Linked DNA regions of Homo sapiens: region 2 is linked to region 1. The links are contacts of gene promoters, found by promoter capture Hi-C in human tissues and cell types (Jung and others, 2019). All regions are on one chromosome and are shown on one strand. Each heading gives the region's core, a stretch centred on a gene start or on the middle of the fragment in contact. The rest is flanking DNA. Distances are from core to core; before and after follow the strand shown.

Evidence for each region. Contacts are between HindIII fragments. The study calls those that stand out against the background at their distance.
Region 2: a fragment that was not itself captured here is called in contact with the fragment with the promoter of PTPN23 in region 1 in 2 of the 25 tissues and cell types used here (lymphoblastoid cells and mesendoderm cells).

What each region holds. Positions count from the first base shown.
Region 1 is chr3:47,379,684-47,382,368 of GRCh38, reverse strand. It overlaps PTPN23 (protein tyrosine phosphatase non-receptor type 23), which reads right to left and starts at 1,348. Exons shown (of 25, transcript NM_015466.4): 1 at 1,189-1,348. The coding sequence starts at 1,272. PTPN23-DT (PTPN23 divergent transcript) reads left to right here and starts at 877. Exons shown (of 1, transcript NR_185912.1): 1 at 877-2,685. RefSeq lists enhancers at 609-1,284, 1,326-1,545, 1,716-1,775, 1,285-1,962. The HindIII fragment of the contact is 13,956 bases long and covers 1-2,685 here.
Region 2 is chr3:46,840,752-46,843,436 of GRCh38, reverse strand. No RefSeq gene overlaps it. Among named protein-coding and RNA genes, the nearest start is that of MYL3, 21 kb to the left of the region's middle. The HindIII fragment of the contact is 6,369 bases long and covers 1-2,685 here.

The DNA of each region.
Region 1 (2,685 bases), core at 99-2,598:
GCCTGGGCAACAAGAGCGAAACTCCGTCTCAAAAAAAAAAAAAAAGGTAGGAAAAAGAAACAGCAGATGAAGAAGAGAGCAACGTCTGGATAACCGTTAACAAAATTCTAGAATTTTGGATCAATTACCCTCATTTCCTGGCCCCAAGAGGCTAGATGATGGACTCAAACACTGTCTGAACTAAGGCAATGGTGTATGGCGATTAGAGGGGAGACAGCTTCTTGGGAAACTACTTCCAAACCCATTTTCTTTTTCCTATTTGTCTTCCCAAGCGTCTCGCTAAGTGGTGCACCATCTAGATTGGGGCTTACTCTGGCATCTGCTGTGCTAAGCCCACAAGGCCCCCCACCTGCGACGGCCTCCTGGTTGTTCCTTTTCATTTCTGCTCTAGCCCTCAGTGCTACCAATACAGCGGATGTCTCGGAGGGCACCTGTGTTCAATCACCACACCTGAACCTCTCCACAGAAGTTCCTTGCCTTAGTCAACGCCAAACCTGCCCGTCTGTTCTTCCAACACAGTAAGATTTCTCTGAGCTCTACAACACTGTTTATGCCCTCCAGTCGGTTACGAAAAGCAGTAACCCTCCTAAAAATGTCGTGGGATTGTATTGTTTGGTCCAAAGAGACTCCCGAATGGGAGACCATACAGAATCGCAGCAATTGTAAAACAAACCCTCACCGCAGGGGTCGGGCATCTCCCTGGGCCACCGGGGCTCACGTCTTAAACACACGCCCCTGAGCCATCCCCAGTGTCTGTCCCAGGCGGGCGTGGACTTGACAGCGCACCGAGGGCCGGGCGCAGCAAAAGAATCCGCACGGTCAGGGCCGCCCACCGCTCCCGCGCGGGGCGGTCCTGGCATGGAGGAGGGGCGGGGCAGAACTGGGTCCGAGCGTCAGAAGGAGGAAGTGTGCTGCCTCAGTGGGAACAGCGGATGACTCGGGGCAGAAGTCGGGAACCGGGTTCAGATGAAGATGCAGGTGCTAGCACGGGGCTATCGGGGAGGAGAAGAATGGCCTGCGGGCGCCGGGGTGTGGGACAGGCTGAGGAAAACCGGCGAAGGCCCCTCCTGGCCTCACCGGACCCTGCGACCGGGCCTGAGGAGGTGATGGGCGCGCAGGGGGGCGTCACGCGCTTGCAGACGACGGAGATACGCGGCGGATAGGGGGGAAGATGGAAGGCAAGCTCACCTTCTTCACAGCTGGCTGGAAGTGAAAGTCACCGGCCTCCTTCAGGTCCAGCCAGATCATGGGCATGCGGGGCACGGCCTCCATGGCGGCTGGCACCCGCCGGCCACCCGGCCACTCCCGTAGCTGCTGCAGCTGCTGGCTCAGCCACGAGCCCAGCCCCGCCCCTTCGTGCCGGAAGTCACTGGTCACGGGAGGGAATGAAAAATGCCAGCGGCCTGCCGGGAGTTGCAGTGAACCCAGCCACCCGCTCGCGTAGTCTTTTGCGCAGGCGCTGTCCCTGTTGCGCATGCTCAGTCTTCTTCGCGCGGAGGGAGTAGGGCGGGGAGGAGCTCGCCAGCCCGAGGCGAAACGGCTTCTGGGATAGTAGTCTTCATCCACTAAACTGAGAGGCGCGGAGCGAGCTTATTCCCCGCTCCCGGGCCAAGCCCAGCTGCGGGTCCCGCCCGCCGCGCTCCTCCCTCCTAGGAAGAGCATGAGACCTCACCTATGAACTTGCCCTCCCACGTATTGTCAAGAGCCGTGGAGGACTGGTGCTGTGGTAGAGATGACGTGGCGGGCGGGCCGCTGGAAAGAGATGACGCGAAAACGGGCCTTAGAGAGGGTGCGGAGGGAGCACCTGGCCTGAAGGAGTCGGGGCTGAGAGCTGGGGGTTTCAGTCCCAGTGCTGCGAAGGCTTTCGAGCTTTGGAACAGAATCACTGACCGGAGACTGGCCTACTCAGCCCAGCCTGGGAGGCCGGGCAGTGCCCAAGGGAGACGGACGATAGGGAGGGAGCGCCTGGATGGAGGGTCTCAAGCGGAGTGAGGAGGCCCCGGGCCCTGTGGGGAAGTGGGTGGGGGAAGGTATACGGCCAGGTGAGCACCCAGGGACGCCCACAGTATCTGGAAGGAGACCACGGAATGGAGAGCACCTGTTGCCTCTGGAGAGGGGACCTATAGAGCAGGAATTGTTAAATCATATGGCTGTATCACCTACTTTTAGAAATAAATAATAGGCTACTCGGGAGGCTGAGGCTGGAGGTTCAATCGCTTGACCTGGGAGGCGGAGATTGCGGTGAGCCTAGATCTTGCCACTGCTCTCCAGCCTGAGCGACAGAGCGAGACTCCGTCTCAAAATAATAATAGTAACAATAGAAATAACAGAGAATGGCCTGGAGATAGTGAGTGCAAAAGTGCGAGCTGGGAGATCAGTGAGCCTTTTGTAGTCTTCCAGGAGACAGGTGATTGTGGCTTGGAGCAGAGGGAAGTAAAAAGTGAGCAAAGAAATATTTTGCCCACTTTGAGAAATATTTGAGGAATATTTTGGAGACAAAAGTATCAGAACTTGGAATGGATGGATGTAAGGGCATGAGGACGTCGAATATGATTTCCAAGCTTCTGGCTTGTGCAGGTGGGTGGCTGTGGGGCTGTTTACTGATAAGGGAAAACAAGGGAAGAGCAAAGGTTCAGGTCCGTGTTAAGCTCGAGGTCAAGGCCTTTGACTCGTTCTGGATGAAAT
Region 2 (2,685 bases), core at 68-2,567, 540 kb after region 1:
AAGGTCCTGAACCTGAATCACATCTATAAATTTCCTTTTACAACGTAAAGTAACATATTCACAGATTTTGGGTACACGAACACGTATCTGTTTGAATCCCTGCTTTCACTTCTTTTGGGTATATACCTAGAAGCAGAATTACTGGATGATATGGTAATTCTATGTTTAACTTTTTGAGGAATTGTCATACTGTTTTCCACAGTCACTGCACCATTTGACATTCCTACCAGCAAGGCACGACATTCCAATTTCTTCATGTCCTCTCCAATACATGTTATTTTCTGTTCTGCTCGTTTCTTTTTAATTAACCATCTTGGTGGGTATGAAGTGTTATCTCACTTTAGTTTTAATTTGCATTACCCTAATGATTGAGTGTCTCAATGTTGAGCATCTTTTCATGTGCTTACTGGCCATTATTTATATTCTTTGGAGAAGAGGTTTATTTACAAATTTATTTGCCCATTTAAAATAGAATTGTCCTTTTGTTTTTGAGTTGTAGGAGTTCTTTATATATTCTGGATATTAATCCCTTATCAGGTATATGATTTGAAAATATTTTCTCCCATTCTGTGGGGTATCTTTTTACTCTCTTGATAGTGTCCTTCATAGCACAAAGGCTACCAATTTTTATTAAGTCCAGTTTGTCTACTTTTTTCTTTTGTGGCAGTGCTTTTGGTGTCATATCCAAGAAATCATTGCCAAATCCAATATCATGAAGATATTCTCCTATGTTTTCTTCTAAGAGTTTTATAGTTTAACTCGTACATGGGGCTTTTGATACATTTTGGGTTAATTTTTGTATATGATGTAAGGTAAAGTTCTACCTTTATTCTTTTGCTTGTGGATATCCATTTTTCCCAGAACTATTTTTTGGAAAGACTGTCCTTTCTCCATTGAATGCTCTTGGCATCCTTGTTGAAAATCATTTGACCATATATGAGAGGGTTTATTTCTGGGTTCTCTATTCCATTGGTCTGTATGTCTGTCATTATGCCAATACCATGCTGTTTTAATTAATATAGCTTTATAGTAAATTTTCAAATCAGAAAGTGTGAGTCTTCCAATTTTGTTCTCTTTTTCAAGATTGTTTTAGCTATTTGGGGTGCTTCAGATTCCAAATGAATTTTAGGACGGTTTTTCTATATCTGCCAAAAAAAGTCATTGGGGTTTTGATAGGGATTGAATTGAGTTAATTTGGATAATTATTGTCACCTTAATAATATTAAGTCTTCCAATCCACGAATATGGAATATCTTTCCATTTATTTAAGTATTCTTTAATTTCATCAAGCAGTGTTGTACAGTTTTCAGTATGCAGGTATTTCACATCTTTGGTTAAATTTATTCCCAAGTGTTTTATTCTTTTTGATGCTATTGTAAATGGGATTGTTTTCTTAATTTCCTTTTTGATCATTCACAGTTATAGAAATGCAACTAATTTTTATAAGTTGATTTTGTATCCTTCAACTTTTCTGAATTTGTTTATTATCTCTAACAGGCTTTTGTGGGAGTTTTAGGGTGGAGTCTTTGGGGTTTTCTAAATATAGGATCATGGCACCTGCAAACAGAGATAATTTTACTTCTTCTTTTCCAATTTGGATGCCTTTTGTTTCTTTTTCTTGTCTAATTGCTCTGGCCAGAACTTCCAATACAATGTTGAATAGAAGTGGTGAAAGTAAGCATCCTTGTCTTGTTCCTGATCTTGAGAGAAAAGCTTTTAGTCTTAAATCATTGAGCATGATGTTAGATGGTGGTTTTTCGTATGTGGTCTTTATTACATTGGAGAAGTTTCCTTCTATTCCTAGTTTATTGAGTGTTTTTATCGTGAGAGGGTGTTGAATTTTGTCAAATGCTTTTCTGTATCAATTGAGATCATCAAGTGATTTTTTCCCCTTCATTATATTAATGTGGCATATTACATTGATTGATTTTTGTATATTGAATCATCCTTGCTTTTGGGGAATAAATTCCACTTGATTAGCTGGGCATGGTGGCCCATGCCTGCAACCCCAGCACTTTGGGAGGCCAAGGCAGGAGGATCACTTGAGTCCAGGAATTCAAGACCAGCCTGGACAATACAGTGAGAGCCCATCTCTAGTTTCATTAAAAGAAAAATTCCACTTGCCATTGGGTATAATCCTTTTAATATGCTGCTAAATTCATTTTGCTAGTATGTGACTGAGGAGTTTTGCATCAATGTTCATAAGGAATATGCACCTGTAGTTTTTTCTTATAATGTATTTGTCTAGCTTTAGTAATAGACTAGTGCTGGCCTTATAGAATGAGTTAGGAAATGTTTCCCCCTCTTGAATTGTTTGAAAGAGTTTGAGAAGAGTTGGTATTAATTCTTTAAATGTTTGATAGAATTCACCAGTGAAGCCATCTGATCCACAGTTTTTCTTTGTTGGGAGATTTTTGATTACTAATTCAGTCTCCTTACTAGTTATAGGTCTACTCAGATTTTCTATTTTTTCAAGGTTCAATCTTGGTAGATTGTGTATTTCTAGGAATTCGTCCATTTCTTTTAGGTTATTCAGTTTATTGGTGTACAGTGTTCATAGTATTCTATTTTAATTCTTTTTATTTCTGTAAAATCAGTAGTAATGTCTCACTTTCATCATCTTCATTTTAAAAACATGGACTTGCTGGATATAACATTCTGGATTGAACATTTTTCTTTCAGTCC